3 separate regions of the Homo sapiens genome follow, and regions 2 and 3 are each linked to region 1. The links are contacts of gene promoters, found by promoter capture Hi-C in human tissues and cell types (Jung and others, 2019). All regions are on one chromosome and are shown on one strand. Each heading gives the region's core, a stretch centred on a gene start or on the middle of the fragment in contact. The rest is flanking DNA. Distances are from core to core; before and after follow the strand shown. Region 1 holds the start of TCIRG1 (T cell immune regulator 1, ATPase H+ transporting V0 subunit a3). Region 2 overlaps CHKA (choline kinase alpha). Region 3 overlaps CHKA (choline kinase alpha).

Evidence for each region. Contacts are between HindIII fragments. The study calls those that stand out against the background at their distance.
Region 2: a fragment that was not itself captured here is called in contact with the fragment with the promoter of TCIRG1 in region 1 in 1 of the 25 tissues and cell types used here (psoas muscle).
Region 3: a contact is called between a fragment that was not itself captured here and the fragment with the promoter of TCIRG1 in region 1, in 2 of the 25 tissues and cell types used here (lymphoblastoid cells and small bowel).

Annotation. Positions count from the first base shown.
Region 1 is chr11:68,037,639-68,040,338 of GRCh38, reverse strand. It overlaps TCIRG1 (T cell immune regulator 1, ATPase H+ transporting V0 subunit a3), which reads right to left and starts at 1,314. Exons shown (of 20, transcript NM_006019.4): 1 at 1,220-1,314. RefSeq lists silencers at 1,123-1,202, 1,263-1,442 and an enhancer at 1,334-1,955. The HindIII fragment of the contact is 15,208 bases long and covers 1-2,700 here.
Region 2 is chr11:68,079,998-68,082,748 of GRCh38, reverse strand. It overlaps CHKA (choline kinase alpha), which reads left to right. Exons shown (of 12, transcript NM_001277.3): 3 at 1,292-1,345. Among named protein-coding and RNA genes, the nearest start is that of MIR6753, 37 kb to the right of the region's middle. The HindIII fragment of the contact is 3,675 bases long and covers 1-2,751 here.
Region 3 is chr11:68,101,352-68,104,137 of GRCh38, reverse strand. All of the region lies in intron 1 of CHKA (choline kinase alpha), which reads left to right. Among named protein-coding and RNA genes, the nearest start is that of CHKA, 19 kb to the left of the region's middle. RefSeq lists a silencer at 417-617. The HindIII fragment of the contact is 5,457 bases long and covers 1-2,786 here.

The DNA of each region.
Region 1 (2,700 bases), core at 65-2,564:
GGGGGCAGCGGGGCTGGGTTCCATCCCTAAGGACCAGGCCCGGCCACAGGGCAGAGGGACTTGGAGCCCAGGCTGAGATTGGGTGTGTGACCTTGGGCAAGTCTCTCACCCTCTCTGTGCCTCTACTTCCTCTTTGGGTGAATGGGACGTGGCACCCCTGACAGAGACAGGATCTAGGGAGGTGACAAAAATAACCAGAGCCTCAACTGAATCCCTTCATCCACACGACCTCACACTAATCCCTGGGGGGAGAAACCCTTGGGGAGGGGGTACGGTGCTTTTGTTTCATACAGGACTCCACTGACACTTGGAGAGGTAAAGTCCAATGTTATGTGCCCAGCACAAAGGGTGAGCTCAGAGGAGGGTTGTGTCTGACCTGGCTCCCTTTGGGGCTGTGCTGGCCAAATAAGGAGGTGTGGGGAATCAGCTCTGGGGATCTGGGGAGGGGTCACCCCTGGCTCAGGGCCATCAGGGCTCCCACAGCCACTATGCCGAGGGCTCGAGGGCCGGGCTCCTTCCAGCACTTCCCAGGGGGTGGGGGAACAACCTGTAATGGGCGGGGGGAAAGGTGTGGGGACGTGATCAGCCCCCGTGCCTGGCATGTGAGGCTCCACTGGCTCACCCCCTACCCCTGTCCCCCTTGGTCCCCGCTCTAGCCAGGGTCACCCAGCCACTTTTATGGTGTAAATGAATACGCCTCCATCCTGCGGCCCTGGGGTCCAGGCTCCAGCCCACTCCTCACCCTGTGCCCCTTTCCTGGCCCCTCCAGGAACCCAGCAGGTCTCTCTGCACCTCTGCCCTCCCCTCCAGATGATGGGAAGGCAGTAGGAGAGGGTCTGGCGCCCCCTCCATTCCAAATGGGGTGGGCTCTGGAGTCAAATGACCCAGCTGGTCTCCAGCTCTGACACTTCCTAGTTGTGTGGTCTCAGCTTCCCCATCTGTAGAATGGGTCCCTCCCTCCAAGGAAGCAGCAGCGGGGAAAGCTCCGCGCACACCAGGCCCGGGAACGCTGGGCTGTGTTGGTAAACACCCCATCCTTCTCCTCCTCCCTTGGGGATCCTCCGTGGCCCCCCGCAAGGCCTGACACCCTGCGGGGTGGCGGGCTGAGCTGCATTCACGGAGCCAACTGGGTGGGGCGCCAGGATCTCCTCCCCGGGGCAGGGGGAAGAGGGTGGGCAGGAAATTCTGGGGCTCCGCAGACCCCGGCAGGGGCACTCACCCCGGGTGTGCTGCGCGCCGCGCCTCCGCTGCTGGCTGCCCCGCTCCGCGCACGCCGGGCGGGACTCAGAACTGCACTCCCGCCAGCCCGGGACTAGGCGCCGCTCACTCCTTTCCGGGCAGGCGGGACGACGGGGAGGGGCCAGGGACGCCCCGCCCCCGGCCCAAGGCTCCACTGGAGTCCAGGAAGTCTGGGAGAGGTTGAGCCCAGGCTGTGGCCTGGCGGACGGGTCCTGAGGCGCTTAATCCCGGAGAGGAGGCCTGGAGAAAGGAGCGGATAACAGACCACTGCCAACCGCGCGCGTCTATGCTGGCCCCGATGCAGGGGCAGCTCCGCTCAGGCCCAGCTCAGGATAGGAGATGAGACCCTGCTCTCCTCTCACTTCGAGGCTTGTGCGCCTCTGGCTGATGGGACCCCAACATTCGCAGGCTCATGGGCTTGGGGTCCCCAGGATGCTCCCCCACCTCCGGGACCCCTCCCTTGGGCGGCAGTGAAACCCGCCGGTGCTTACACCTTCCTGCTCTTGACCACCCTGGAGAGGCCCCGCTCTGGCCCTTGGGTGGGTGGCTGCCCCACTCTGGGCCTGCTTCACTGGCAGCAGGACACAGGGCCAGGCCATGCTGCCTTGTTCTGCCCAGCGCCCCGCACCCAGCAGGCCCTGGGAGATACCCTGGGGCCAGAGGCCAGCTGTCAGCTCCACCTGCAGCTGCAGCCGCGGGGGGTAGAGGGGGGTGTCACTGTGACCTTGCTCCAGGTCAGCACCATGGGCGTCATCAGGTCCTAGTGCCTGGAAGCTGGGACTCACGACCGTCCAGCTGCCTGCACTTTGGACAGGCCTGGGGCATTCCCACTGGAGGCCAGGGGCCCTTCAGCTCTGGTGATCCCTAAGCCCCACACAGCGAGCACAGGCCTGTGGGGCTGCGGCAGGGGTGGACAAGTGGAGCCCCAGAGCCGGGCCTGGAAACTGAGTCACAGCCAAGCTCAGCTGTGGTTCCTCAGAAAATTGGGGGACTTGTGGTTGGGCGCCATAGGCCTGTTCTGACAGGGTCGGGGCCTGATACAACCAGACAGCCTGAGTGGGGTCTCAGCAGTAAGTGCCTGGGAGACCACGGTAAGGGAAAGAACCCAGCGGTGAGCTGGAAAGACTGACCCGCTTGGAATAGAAGTATTCAGTGCACAGCTACAGGCTCCATGCCACGCTCTGACGGCGGTTACGTCTGGGAAAAGCTAAACCGGCGGTGCTTCAGGAGTCCTGCGCCTGCCTTGTTTTTGGAAAGAACACCTGTTTTCATCAGTGGCCAAGATGAGCTGCGGGCCAGACCTGTGGACACTTCCCGGGCTCCAGGCTTCCCCTCGCCTCCTGCAGTTACTTCTCACCCCAGTGCCACAGGCTGTGGGGCCCAAGCGGGAGCCTGGCCACTTTGGCATTAGATGGCAATGCCTGGTCTAGGAAGGAGGCCCAGGTGTTAGACCTGAGAAAA
Region 2 (2,751 bases), core at 132-2,631, 42 kb before region 1:
AAGAGCCTTTTGCAAATAGATTTATGAACATGGATACTTATTTTGTTTACTTTTATATTACATGTACTGTTTATACAAAACATGCATTAAAACGTCTGTAATGTTATTTCAGTGTGTGATGGATGAGTGGTTGCTTTAAATCACTAGGTTTTTGATTGGTGCTAGAGTAGCTGGTGTTGCTTAACGTGGCATTTTTTTTCCTGTCCACACTTTCCACCCTTGGTACAGGTATTTTTGATAAAGCTGTGGAATGGAAAGGTATGTTTTTCATGGGGTGTTCAAGAATCTGTTACCTTAAATTTTTTTAAAGAGGTTTCCTTTCTGGGATTCCTTTTGTGTCTGGCTTAAGCAGACTTAGTTTAATTTAACAAGTAACATTTTTAGAGGCAGTATTTGAGTATAAAAGTTTGACGTGACACAAGTTTCTGACTTTACTTTTCCCCATTCCCTTATTAAAGATAGTACGAAGGATTTTAAAGCATTTGGGGTGGGGGGTTGCTCTTAAAATATATGATCTGTACCATGAGAAAGAATGTAGCCCAAGGGTTGTTTATGGTAGTTAATGATCTAGTGTGTTGTTATTGCTAGAATCCTGGTTATCATAAATTTGCAATTTCATTGAGGAAAGTGATATAAGTATTTCTTAATATATTAATATATGAAATAATTTTAGAGACTTTATTAAATACACACAGTCCTCTTTATGGTAGAGGAACAGTTCAGCTTGAGCTGGTGACCGGCTGAACTAGAGGGGTTACTCTGGGAAAGTGGCGAGTCGGCAGGGCATGTCTGCACAGATTTTGTGCCAGGTTTCCTGCCTGCACAGCGCTTTCTTCTCTGTCCAAGTTCTGTGCTGACCACAGCTGTCCACAGGCATGTTTACACTCCCTGTTCTTGCAGGTTGACTTGAGAGAACCACGTAGCTAAATTGGTGAGAGACTCAGCCTGACCGCTTGTCTTTAGAAGGCCTGATTGGAAGAGTGCACTCTATTGACTTTCCTCTAACAATGAAATTGTGAAAGGTACATGGGGCGGCTGTGAGACGTGCAGCTATCGGGTCTCACCGGCACATCCCTTTTCTCGTAAAGCAATGAAGCACTTTCTAAGGTGTTGGTACTAGTGCTGGAGGCTGCTGGTGCATTAGATGCTGCCCGTCACATCGGTGGGCTGAGAAACCTTCCTTAAAGACCTGTGATGTTTTGTAAACCCTGACTGTTCTGGTGGTTGCAAAGTTAGTGTCTGTTTAGTGTTCCCCATCTCACCAGAAGTGTTTCCTTTTTCTCATTCATAGAGGTCCTGTAATAAAGAGGGATCCGAACAAGCTCAGAAAGAAAATGAATTTCAAGTAAGTAATTCAGTCTTTCTGCATCTGTGTGAGATGTGAACTAGTGTTAGCCACCCTTCGCTACTCCAGGGCTTGGCAGTGCCTCTTATCTACCCTTGGAAAATCCTGATCTATCTTTCTACGAGGAGGGGCTCTTGGTATATCTATCAGAAGCCACCTTACGGAGACTGAGTGAGCGGTGGGTATTCCTCATTCCTCCTGAGAGTGTAGACTGTGGAAGTTTGGTGTCTTTATGGCAATCGAAACAGCATTCGGATGTTGGCAGATGGCAGCCAGGGGAGCATTCGTGTGTGGTACCTGATGAGGAGGCCCTGGCTGCCGCTGCTGTGATGCCTCTCTCACCCCCTTTCTGGTCGTTCCCACACTTCCCATCAGGAAGCGGGTCACTGCCCAGTGGTTTTGGTGGCCACCCATTTTCCATGGGCTAACAGCAATGTTTTTTCCTATGGATGATACCCAAGTTGGAAAAGCTTCTTCCTAGACTTAGAGAATGTGACCCCACTCTCTGAAACACACATGTGCAGATGGCTTGAGGCCAAGAGCACTGACCGATGGAGCCTCAGAGGCAGGGGTCTGGGGTGTTGGTCTGCATGCCCCAGCGTAAGCACCTTTTGAGCATCTCTGCCATTATGTGCAGGCTCACAGAGAAGGGTGCATGTGCACACATGCCCAACATACGTGGGTCTAAGATGTAGATACACACATCGCCACATCACTTTTACCAATTGTATATTGATTATTAAAATGGTCAAGAAATAGGCTGAATGCGGTGGCTCACACCTGTAATCCCAGCATTTTGGGAGGCTGAGGCAGGTGGATCATGAGGTCAGGAGTTTGAGACCAGCCTGGCCAACAAGGTGAAACCCCGTCTCTACTGAAAATAGAAAAATTAGCCAGGCATAGTGGTGGGCACCTGTAATTCCAGCTACTTGGGAGGCTGAGGCAGGAGAATTACTTGAACCTGGGAGGCGGAGGTTGCAGTAGACCGAGATTGTGCCACTGCACTCCAGCCTGGGCGACAGGAGTCGTCCCCACCAAATGCAAAAAAAAAAGAAAAAAATCAAGAAATAGACATTAAAACGGTTGAGATAAAAAAGGAATGAAAGTGATGATATTTTTTCCACACTTTTCAGCGGCTTGTTTTACATGTGTCTTGCTCTGGGTGCCCTGCTAGAGGATCTAGAACTTGTGCTCTCTGGAGTGACAGTGACTGGGAAGTCCTTGGGTGGGAAGTGATTGACAATCTGTTGTGAACCATTCCAAGCCCTTTGTGCAGAGGCCTTTGGACATCCTGTTAGCTGAAAATGGTGGATCACCAGGACCTGCGTGATGCTAAATCCAAAGTACTTTTCAGTTCTCATTTTATTTTGACTTCTCAGTAGCATTTGACATGACCCCCACCCTTT
Region 3 (2,786 bases), core at 64-2,563, 64 kb before region 1:
TCTACTGTGTATATATACCACATTTTCTTTATTCATCTGTTGATGGACACTTACATTTATTCTATAATCAATTGATGGCTTTTGTGACTAGTGCTGCAATATACATGAGAGTGTAGATGTCTGATGTACTGATTTCATTTCCTCTGGATGTATTACCAGTAATGGGATTGCTGGATTTTTAATTTTTTATTTTATTTAATTAATTTATTTATTTTTTATTTTTTTGAGACTGAGCCTTGCTCTGTCTCCCAGGCTGGAGTGCAGTGGTGTGATCTCGGCTCACTGCAACACTGCCTCCCGGGTTCAAGTGATTCTCGTGCTTCCTCCTCACAAATAGCTGGGATTACAGATGTACACCACCATGCGTGGCTAATTTTTTTGTTTTTTTAATAGAGACAGAGTTTCACCATGTTGGCCAGGCTGATCTCGAATTCCCGACCTCAGGTGATCTGCCCGCCTCAGCCTTCCAAAGTGCGGGGATTACACGCATGAGCCACTGCACCAAGCCTGGATTTTTTTTTTTTAAACTTGCTTTGATGAGCAGGAGCTGGATCTTAATGGTAATTCTATTTTTAATTTTCTGAGGACCCTGCATACTGTTTTTCATATCTGTACTAACTTACATTGCCATCAACAGTGTGTAAGGGTTCCCTTTTCTCCACATCCTTGTCAACGTTTGTTATCTTTTATCATTGAAAATAGACAGTCTAATAATGACTAGTGGTGGTCAGCATTTTTTCATATACCTGTTGGCCATTTATTTTATTTTTTTTAAATTTACTGAGACAGGGTCTTGCTCCGTCACCCAGGCTGGAGTGCAGTAGCACAATCACAGCTCATTTGCAGCCTCAACCTCCCAGGCTCAAGTGATCCTCCCATCTCAACCTCCCGAGTAGTTGGGACTGCAGGCACGTGCTACCTACCACATGTGGCTTTCTGGCCATTTATTTGTCATCTTTTGATAAATGTCTGTTGGGTCTTTTGCCTTGTTTTTGTTATTGAGGGATGGAATCTTGCTCTGTCATCCAGGCTGGAGTACAGTGGTGCATTCATAGCTTACTTCAGCCTCAAACTCTTAGGCTCAAACAATCCTCCTATGTCAGCCTCCCAAGCTGGGAATATAGGCACACGCCACCATTTAGGGCAAATATATTTTTTTTTTTTTAAACAGGGTCTTGCTCTGTCACCCAGGCTAAAGTACAGTGCAGCCTTGACTTCCTGGGCTCTAGTGATCCTCTTGCCTCAGCCTCTTGAGTAGCTGGTGTCCATTTTTTAATTGGTTTCCTTTCCTTTCTTTGCTGTGAGTTCCTTGTATATTTTCTATATTATCCCCTTAACTGATGTATAGTTTGCAAATAGATTCTTCCATTCTGTAGGTTGTTTCTTCACTCTTGTTTCCTTTGCTGTGCAGAAGCTTTTTAGTCTGCTATAATCCTATTTGTTTATTTTTGTTTGTGTTGCCTGTGCTTTTGAGGTCTTTTAAAAAAAATTCCTGGCTCAGACCAAGGTCATGAAGCTTTTTCCCTATGTTTTCTTATGGCAGTTTCATAGTTTCAGGTCTTACTTTAAGTTTTCGATCCATTTTGGAGTTTATTTTTGTATATGGTGTGAGATAAGGATCTAATTTCATTCTTGTGCGTGCGATATCCAGTTTTCCCAACACTGTTTATTGAAGAGACTGTCTTTTTCCCTATTGTGTTCTTGACACTTGTTGAAAATCAGGTAGCTGTAAGTGTGGATTAATTTGTGGGCTTTTATTCTGTTATATTGGTCTCTGTCTGTTTTTATGCCAACACCATGCTGTTTTGGTTACTATGACTTTGTAGTATATGTTGAAGTTAGGTAGTGTGATTCCTCTAGCTTTGTTCTTTTTGCTCCAGATTGCTTTGGCTACTGGGGTCTTTTGTGATTTCATATAAATTTTAGGATTGGTTTTCCTATTTCTATGAAGAATGTCATTGGTATTTTGATAGGGATTGCATTGAATGTATAGATTGCTTTGGGTAGTATGGACTTTTTTTTTTCTTTTTTTTTTTTTGAGACAGAGTCTTGCTCTGTCACCCAGGCTGGAGTGCAGTGGCGTGATCTTGGCTCACTGCCACCTCCGCCTCCTGAGTTCAAGAGATTCTCCTGCCTCAGCCTCCCGAGTAGCTGGGATTACAGGCGCCCACCACCATGCCCAGCTAATTTTTGTATTTTTAGTAGAGGCAGGATTTTATCATGTTGGCGAGGCTGGTCTTGAACTCCTGGCCTCAGGTGATCAGCCCACCTCAGCCTCCCAAAGTGTTGGGATTACAGGCGTCAGCCACGCGCTTGGCCAGTATGGACATTTTAACAATATTAATTCTTCTAATACATGAACATGGGATATTGTTCCATTTATTTGTGTCTTCAGTTTCTCTGATCAATATTTTAAAGTTTTCATTGCAGAGCTCTTTCACCTCCTTGGTTAAATTTCTTTCTTTTTCTTTTCTTTTTTTTTTTGTTAGCTATTGTAAACAGGATTGTTTTCTTGATTTCCATTCCAGATAATTTGCTATTAGCTGGCATGCAGTGGCGTGATCACAGCTCACTCCAGCCTTGACCTCCTGGGCTCAAGTGATCTTCCCACCTGAGCCTCCCGTTTAGAAATAATACTGCTACTGATTTTTGTATGTTGATTTTGTATCCTGCAATCTTACTGAACTTATTAGTTCTCATAGTTTTTTGGTGGGGTCTTTAGGGTTTTCTATATGTAAGATCATGTTGTCTGCAAACAGGGATAATTTAACTTCATTTCCAATTTG